3 separate regions of the Homo sapiens genome follow, and all the other regions are linked to region 1. Evidence: promoter capture Hi-C in 16 types of primary human blood cells and fetal thymus (Javierre and others, 2016). All regions are on one chromosome and are shown on one strand. The core of a region is centred on a gene start or on the middle of the fragment in contact, and the rest is flanking DNA. Distances in the headings are between cores, read along the strand shown.

Evidence for each region. Contacts are between HindIII fragments. The CHiCAGO score rates a contact against its expected background, and 5 or more counts as called.
Region 2: a contact is called between a fragment that was not itself captured here and the fragment with the promoter of DLD in region 1, in 2 of 17 cell types (non-activated CD4 T cells and total CD4 T cells). The highest score is 6.0, in non-activated CD4 T cells.
Region 3: a fragment that was not itself captured here is called in contact with the fragment with the promoter of DLD in region 1 in 1 of 17 cell types (non-activated CD4 T cells); the score reaches 7.4 in non-activated CD4 T cells.

What each region holds. Positions count from the first base shown.
Region 1 is chr7:107,889,808-107,892,610 of GRCh38, reverse strand. DLD (dihydrolipoamide dehydrogenase) reads right to left here and starts at 1,428. Exons shown (of 14, transcript NM_000108.5): 1 at 1,322-1,428. The coding sequence starts at 1,360. RefSeq lists a silencer at 1,088-1,197 and enhancers at 1,258-1,497, 1,008-1,690, 1,648-1,727. The HindIII fragment of the contact is 5,175 bases long and covers 1-2,803 here.
Region 2 is chr7:107,185,816-107,188,618 of GRCh38, reverse strand. It overlaps HBP1 (HMG-box transcription factor 1), which reads right to left. Exons shown (of 11, transcript NM_012257.4): 4 at 2,677-2,803; 5 at 2,147-2,258; 6 at 1,938-2,050. Among named protein-coding and RNA genes, the nearest start is that of HBP1, 18 kb to the right of the region's middle. The HindIII fragment of the contact is 2,132 bases long and covers 370-2,501 here.
Region 3 is chr7:107,204,880-107,207,682 of GRCh38, reverse strand. All of the region lies in intron 21 of COG5 (component of oligomeric golgi complex 5), which reads left to right. LOC124901720 (a long non-coding RNA gene) reads right to left here. Exons shown (of 2, transcript XR_007060471.1): 2 at 1-1,990. Among named protein-coding and RNA genes, the nearest start is that of HBP1, 37 kb to the right of the region's middle. The HindIII fragment of the contact is 5,186 bases long and covers 1-2,803 here.

The DNA of each region.
Region 1 (2,803 bases), core at 179-2,678:
TAGTGCCATTGCACTCTAGCCTGGATGTCAGAGTGAGACTCCGTCTCAAAATAAATAAATAAATAAATAAATAAATAAAGCTCTGAAAGTTCTAACTTAAATACTTGAATAATCTATACATGATAATCTTTTTACCTGTAATTTTTGTTTCCTAACTCTAAGCTAGCGTGTATATACAGTCCGTATTTACTTAGAACAATCTATGAAGATGTTCCTGAGACATCAACTAGGAATAGCAAATTAGACAAGGTAACTTAGGAAAATGCACCAAGTAATGTACTTACGTTCTGGTGCTACTACAGTTTGACAAATTGCATCATAATCTCCCTAATCTCTATATGTGGACGGCTACCATTTCCTAAGGGCAATGAGGCAGAAAGCAAGCAAGCAAATAACCCCTGCTCACAGCAGGAAAATGGGCGGCAGTGACAAAACCTACACTGATGTTTCCTATTCCAAGGCAACTCTTAACATTTGAGGTCAGGACAGCAAACCCAAAAAGCAGCAGATTGACAATCCTGAGTTTCAGTCCCACCTCCGCCGCTCCCTAAAAGCATGACTTGCAGAATGTTACATTAACTTTTGAGAACTCAGGTTCCTCATCTCTGAAACAAAAGGGTTTGATCGCTATATTATTTTTAAGGTCTCCACTAACATAGTACCCAGCCACGGTGCCACATACACACAATTTGGCTGTATCTGGTAAGCAGATTAAAAAGGAGAGTTGTTCTGATAACCTGCTGCAATTAAAGATTTAAGCCTCCAGGAAGTCGTGAGAGATGGCAATGAACACCAGTTGAAAGCTGCCAACACTGACAAGACCTTAGGGGAATTCCGAGGGCTATCTGTTGGAGCTGACTGGATCTAAACCATTCAAGAAGTGACCCCAGGGTTACCTGCCCACTGCATAAACTTAGGCCACTCAGGGATCAGAATTAGGATGAGAAAAAGGCAAATGGTATAAAAAGCCAGACTATACGGGACATGGGTGGCTTACACTTCCTCCAAGGTAGAGGCCTATGTGTGACCGGGATGGCCCTCGGCCCAGGCTTGGGGGTGTGGCATGTGTGACCGCCGGCCGTCACACAACCCGAAAGGACTCGCCACAGCCTGGGCCCAGCCCCGTCCCTCGCCTGCTGCAGGATGAGCGGCCACCTCGGAGCCCAGGGCCGGGCTGAGCCAGTGCAGAGGCGGGGCCAGGGGTGGTGCGGCCCAGGCGCCCGCCTCCGCCAGCCCAACACGGTTAAGCCGCGTACCGGACCCACTGAGCGGGACCTTCCGTGCCTCTGGCTCAACACGACCTCACCTACTCGGCCCTCACCTTGGCCAAGGAGCAGTACACACGACTCCAGCTCTGCATTTTTCCGCTGTATTTTCCTTTCCGCCAATACTTTCACCTCCGCTGGGCGCCTCCGCCGCTCCGCCAAGGTCTCCCCTCCCTGCGCATGCACAGGCGCAGCCTACGTCATCACCCGGGAGCAGCGCGATTGGCCCGCGCGGTTCTACCGCACGAGGCGTTCCTGTCAGGCTCGGCGTCGTACGCTGTCGTAAGGAGCGCAGGGCTTTGTCGCAGCGGGGGTGGTGGTGGGAATGCTTTAGGGGCTGGTGCCAAAATGTCGAGCTACAATGTATTCTTATACTTAGAAGATGAAATAAACAAATAAAACTAGCGTTTGCTTAATGCACATTATCGACAGTAAAGCGTGACAAGTTCAACAAGCTCTTGGTTGTGCTAGGCATTCCTCGGCACTTCCTACAGACATCTCATTTCATCCTTGCAACAACCATATGGAGTATTATTAGTATTTCCATTTCTTGGATGAGACCCAGAGAGGTTAAACAGTGCCCCCAAGGTCTCACAAAGGAGAGATAACTGCGGCCCTGAGGCCAAAACCTTTGGTATTATCTACTGCTTTATACTCGCTCCTCTCAAATGCCATATAAGGGATGGGGCTACAGATTTTGGCATCACCAGCATTCTGCTCTAATTAGCTAACTGACAATACGTAGAGAACACACTTTCTTCTATTTCTTTAGTTGAGAAACACATCTCCCTGGTAAAAAGAGAGTGGGATGGTGGATGAGATTTTAGGTTTTGAGAGAGAATCTGTTGAAAAGGGTTGAAAAACATTGTCTTCAAGATTGAGCACGAAAGTCTAAGGTCTCATTCTTGCCTTGCAATAAGTCTATATAGTGTGAATAAACTTAATTCTACATTTATTGGAAGTCTACCACCCAGGCCTTGTGCTGGGCTAAACACTGGTTAGAAATTACTGCCTATGTTCAGATTTAGATATGAATAATTAAATTTAGTGTTTGTTATAGAGACGGTATTGCTGGCAGCTCTGTCCTGTGACAGGGTCCCAGGCTCCTTTTATCTCGTGACTCTGCCATCATCAGAGCTTGCCTTGCATCTTTCATTCAAGATGGCTGCTCCAGTTTCTACAATCATATCCCCTCATTCCATCTGATTACAAAGCCACACCTAGCTGCAAGGGGATCTGTGAAACATAGTCCTGTCAGCTGAGTGCCTAACTGAAATTGTATTAATAAGCAAGATGAGATGAAGCGAAATTGGGGGACATTGAGCAGCCTCCACCACACAGATGGGGAGAATTGTCTCCTCTCCAGCTTCATGGCAGTCTTTGACATCTGGTCTAGGAGTTACTGCTCCATATGCACAAAATCTCACAATTCTTTCCTGAACTTTCTTGGGCTTTGTTCCCTACTCCTTTGTCCAAAATTACAATATCATATTTTTATTTTTAAAAAATGAAACACTTCCATCCTTTCCAGCTGTCAT
Region 2 (2,803 bases), core at 186-2,685, 700 kb after region 1:
AATATTGAGCATTTAACACATGCCACATGGTAGGATCTGAAAATACAAACACTAACAAACATGATCCTTACCCTTACATTCACAGAAAAACAAAGGAGACAAACACGCCAAAAGCTTGCTATAGTATCCAATCATAATTACGCTAACGCATGAACAAGGTCATGAATAAGAGAGGATGACTTAAAAATCTTTACAGAATTAGAATCAAATGAATATAAATAAAGGGAAGAAATAGAATAGTAAAAGACAACTTCATGGTTTTGAATCTGGTAATCAAGAAGGATGATAATAACAACTTTGAAAGAATAGGAGGAAAGTAAGCCAAGAAGAGGAAGAAAAAGGTAAGGGCAGTTTTGGTCACACTAAGCTTAGTTCAAAGAACTGACTGATATTCATGCAGAGATGTCTAACATGCAGCTGGAAATGTGCAGGTGAAGGCTATAGACATAGATTGGCAAATAACGAAATTACAAAATCTTCCCATTCTCAGGGCTGCAGGAGACCTTAAAACTAATCCAATCCCATTTTTCAGATCAGGAAGCCAATACTCAGAGGGGTTAACAATCTGCCTAAGATCAGTAACACAGATAATTGCTGGAGAAGCTATAAAGAGAGCCCAGGTTTCCTGACTCCAAGTCCAGAGTGCATTCCACAGGACATGATGGAGGTGCTGCTGACATTATCAGGAGAGAGGAACTGGTGAAGAAAGTGAAGGGGGCAAAATCTTGTCTAATATTCAGCACTGCGGGCAGTCAAGTACCAGGCCTAAAAGACTGAGAATCAGGATGCTGCCATGCTACACAAATCAAGGGAAGACAATGTCAGGAACTAACCCAATGTGTCAAATGTTGTACAGATGTCAAACAGAACAAACGACGTCTCTCTTCCTAGAAATCAGAATAAAGCTAGTAACCTTTGAGACAATTTTTGTAGAGTAGTAGAGGCCAAAGTTAGACTATTGTGAACTTCACTAAAGTGAAGAGTAAAGCAAGGGGACGAAACTGAAGGCAGCCAAGACAGGACAATTTTTCTCAAGAGACTTAATAGTGAGACATAGCAGGATCAAAACAAGAATTTGTACAAGCACACTTCACATGCCCATTTTCTTGCCTACAGGAGAGATGGAGAAATTAAAAATTTCAAAGTGAAAGGTGTCAACTTTATCCTAATATTGCTCGCTACTGCTTTTGCTCATCGACTTAGAAAATGCTAGTTTTAGTAACTTAATATGAAACAACTTATATAAAGTAACTTAATATAATTGGCTTTCAATAATCTACAGGGGAATTAATCACTTTGTAGATTACCTAAGGCAAGGCTTTGGTTAGTTTATTTATTCATTACATATAAATATATATATATTTTTTGAGACAGAGTCTCACTGTGTTGCCAGGCTAGAGTGCAGTGGCGCAATCTTGGCTCACTGCAAGCTCTGCCTCCTGGGTTCACACCATTCTCCTGCCTCAGCCTCCCAAGTAGTTGGGACTACAGGCGCCCACCACCACGCCCAGCTAATTTTTTTGTATTTTTAGTAGAGGTGGGGTTTCACCGCGTTAGCCAGGATGGTCGCGATCTCCTGACCTCGTGATCCACCCGCCTCAGCCTCCCAAAGTGCTGGGATTACAGGCATGAGCCACTGCGCCCGACCTCATTACATATTTTTAATACCAGTTTTCCCCATTGTAAAGTGTATAAAACACGAAGAAGCACCAAGAAATATACTATTTCCCATCCAAGAAAGCATGTTAGAAAGGCAAACCTAAAATCATTGCTCCTCCCCATCAGACTAAGCAATGAGTGGTCATAAAAATGCTCTACCTAAAATGTACGATGTCATTTAAATATCAAAGTGAATGGAGGATATTTCTGTAGATTAACAATAAATCTTGTTTCATTTGGAAAGATTTTGAAAAATTTTTTAAGAATTTTAAATCAACCTTGTGAATGCCCATTTGAAGATCTTCCTCATTATCACAGCCTTCAGCTCTAGCAAAATCTTCAACATCTTGCCATTCCTTATTGCTTCCCTTATGAAAGCACAGTCGTGTGCCTAAGGTTTAGGTAGAAAACACGTATTAGACACGTGACTGTACTAGACAAGTAAGCTGTGGAAAATTCAAGGTTTTTGTTTGTTTGTTTGTTTTACCTTTCAAAAAACAGTGCCAGACAGTTGAAGGCCAGGAATTGCACCATCCCAAATCATCATCATCTGACAGGGAGGACATGCAGAAAATGCCAGATTCTGACTCACTATTTGCCTATGGAGAAAAATATTATCAACTTTTTTATTTGTTTTTAAAATATACCTTTTAATATCTGTTTTCATCCCACGTCTTTAGGCCCATGCTTATAGGTGGATAACTTAGTAATTCTAACCTTAGGGAAAATATAATGCCTTCAAAAACTGAGGGTTGTCAGGCTGTGGGAGAATTTGCTAAAAAAAAAAAAAAAAGAAAAAAAAAGAAAAAAAAGACACACACAAAACAAAGTTTTTGGAAGCTTTAGTTATACGCACATTCCCATTAATAATAAGCTTTCCTAACACATAGCAGAGCTGTATATAAAATCAAATCCAGATCACTAACAGAACAGTGAGACTACTTCCTATGAGGAATGTTAATGTACTTCAACTGTTGTACAAACTTTGTAAAAGTTTAACCTCATAAATAAACTTACCCTTTCGTGTCTTACTGGTGTTTCCTCCTTCCAATGGTGATGAGGGAAGGCTGGTTCACTCTTCGAAGAAGAGGACACTGGTGGAGGGCGTGCATAGGAATGTAAACTTTTGCTAGTGGCTATGATG
Region 3 (2,803 bases), core at 226-2,725, 680 kb after region 1:
GTGTGCTCCCTCAGATGCAGAGGCAGCCGCCTGGCTCGTGCCTGTGGGTAAGTGTTGAATGTGTTTTCAATAAAGATAGAGTCTTTGATGGAAAGATTTCTCAAGCTCTGTAACAGCGGTGGGGTTGGCCTCAAATCCATTTACTCTGGATATTTGCCGTGGAGAGCAACTCTTCTTCTTATGGCCCTCTTTGAGTAGGAGTACACAAATGTTCACAGACCTTATTAGCCTAGTGGTACTTTTATCTACACCATCAGAGAATGCTTGGTGCCATGTGCATCCTTGGATCCCTTGCCCTCTTGCCATGGTCCAGGGTCCACAATCTGGAAGCCATTCCCTCAGCTCCTCTGTACTTCTGCAGAACTCCCAAGATCTCCATCGATGGAGGGAAATGTTTCTCCTCCTGGTACCATGTCACTAGCTACCTATCAGTTCTGTGAATGGAGTGTCTGAAATAGGACGAAGAGGGAGGATGGAACCAGGGAAAAGCCTGGGCTTAACTGCTTATTGAGGCATGTAGTGTATCTTTAAGTCATTTATGCATTTCAGTACTTACTAATCACATTGAATATTTAAATGCCTGACAAAAATCAATGTTGTTTTCCATGAAAACTTCCACTTGGCTAGTTTTTGTCATGTTGAGCAGTGTTGCCATGTTACCACAAACCATTCCTCTACTAATCGTGTTTTTTTTCTCAATAAGGATAACCTCAATAATCTACTTATTTTGGTTACAAACCAGAGTTAAGACTAACTGTTACATAACACTTGGCCTGACTTCCAAGAAAGCTAATGTTTTGCTTAAGCAAATGAAGTAATTTAATAAGTACTCGAAAATCTTGCTCTAATTTCATGTGGGAGGGCAGCTTAATCTTTTTTGCCCCATACTTCTGATGGTGTTTTTGATGACTACCCAAAAATCTAACCAAACTCATTTCTGATCTCTTCTACATGTTGTGTAACTTACGTGATGTCTTATCCTTTTAAATGCCAACGAAACTAAGTTGATTTTTGTCCATCAAATATATCTAATCCATTCACTATGAAATGATTGTAGTTCCTGTGAATTTAAACACTTCTTATACGCTGATACATACACCTTGGTGTCTTAAAGACAGATGAGCCCTTGGGGATTTCTTTACTGTATATGATTCTGTAGGGACTACATTTGGGGAGTGGAGACAATTTCCCAGGATGGCATACCAACTAGAAGCATATTACCAAAAGAAGCAAGTTTTTTTCATAGAAAAATATCTCCATTCAGGGTCAGCTCTGGTTTAACTAAGGCATCTCACAAAACATTGTTCTCTAAGAGCACTAAATTCCATCTTGCATGCCAGTTGAGAGTGGTATGTTAGCTGGGACTTGAAACTGGGTATGTGAGCTGAGTAATGGTATGAACTTACATGTTATTTAAAACAGCTACACTTCTTCTGGCTCACGCCTGTAATCCCAGCACTTTGGGAAGCCCAGGTGGGCGGATCACGAGGTCAAGAGATCGAGACCATCCTGGCCAACACGGTGAAACCCCGTCTCTACTAAAAATACAAAAAAATTAGCCGGGTGCAATGGCGGGCGCCTGTAGTCCCAGCTACTCGGGAGGCTGAGGCAGGAGAATGGCGTGAACCCAGGAGGCGGAGCTTGCAGTGAGCCAAGATTGCGGCACTGCACTCCAGCCTGGGCGACAGAGCAAGACTCCGTCTCAAAAAAATAAAAAAAAAAAAAAAACAGCTACACTTCTTCAGTAAGGGCTTGCCCATCCCCCTGCATACCTGATTTAAAGTACTCCTGCCCTGACCAGAGCATGGAGCCAGCCTTCAGGGATTCCAAAGTGCCGGATCCTACTAAGTCAAGGCTGTTGATACAGAGGTGAGATCGTTTCACAAACCTGTGTGACTCCAAGATGGTTTCCATTCTTTCCTGCTGCCTGGAGTTAAGAAAGGCTTTCCTTAAAAGGGAGCATTGAAGCCGAGTCCTAAGAGATAAAGAGCTGCGCAAGAAAGTAAGCAAGGAAGGGTATTCTAAGGATAAGGAAGATAATGTGCAAAGGGCTAAGAGAATGTGGCTCTTTAACTGAAACATTCAGTATGGCCAAAGATAAACAGGCCCTTTGGCACCCCCTACTTTGTTAGGCAGAGACAGCTTTATTTCATAGCAATGTATGAACAAACACCCTTGATCTTTCCCTAGGTGGGCAGCCAGGTTGGGCCATACAAATGGGGCAAATATGCTTTGCACATTACTTGGTAACACAAAAATGGAAACTAATGATTTGAGGGTCTTTTTAGGCCACATCAAGCTATCTAAAACCCAGCAGTAGCACAGAAAGGGCTGGGAGCAGCTTGATGATGAAGCTGGTATTCAGTTGGGTTGAGTCTAGGCACTGACCAGAGCATGGAACCAGCCTTCAGGAATTCCACAATGCTGGATCCTGCTAAGTCAAGGCTGTTGATACAGAAGTCAGACCTTTCCAGATTTCCTATAAAGAACAGGGCACGGCAAGTGCTGTAATACTTCAGGGGAAATCTCTTGCTATAATATGGAAGACTGACCAGAACAGGGGAGAAACAGCAGTAGGATGCTCACCACCTTAAGAGGCTACAGCAATCATTAGGGCACAAGATAGCAAGGGTTCAAAGTGAAGCGAAGGGGAGAGGAGGGACTGGATGTGGAAATGTGTGTAGCAAATTAATAGGATTTGGTAATTGTTTCGGTGTAGGAGGGGAAAAGAACTAAGAGACCTTAAGTTGATGGTGCCCTTTGTTGAAATAAGGGAAGGCGGGCAGAACGCTGCCCCAATTTT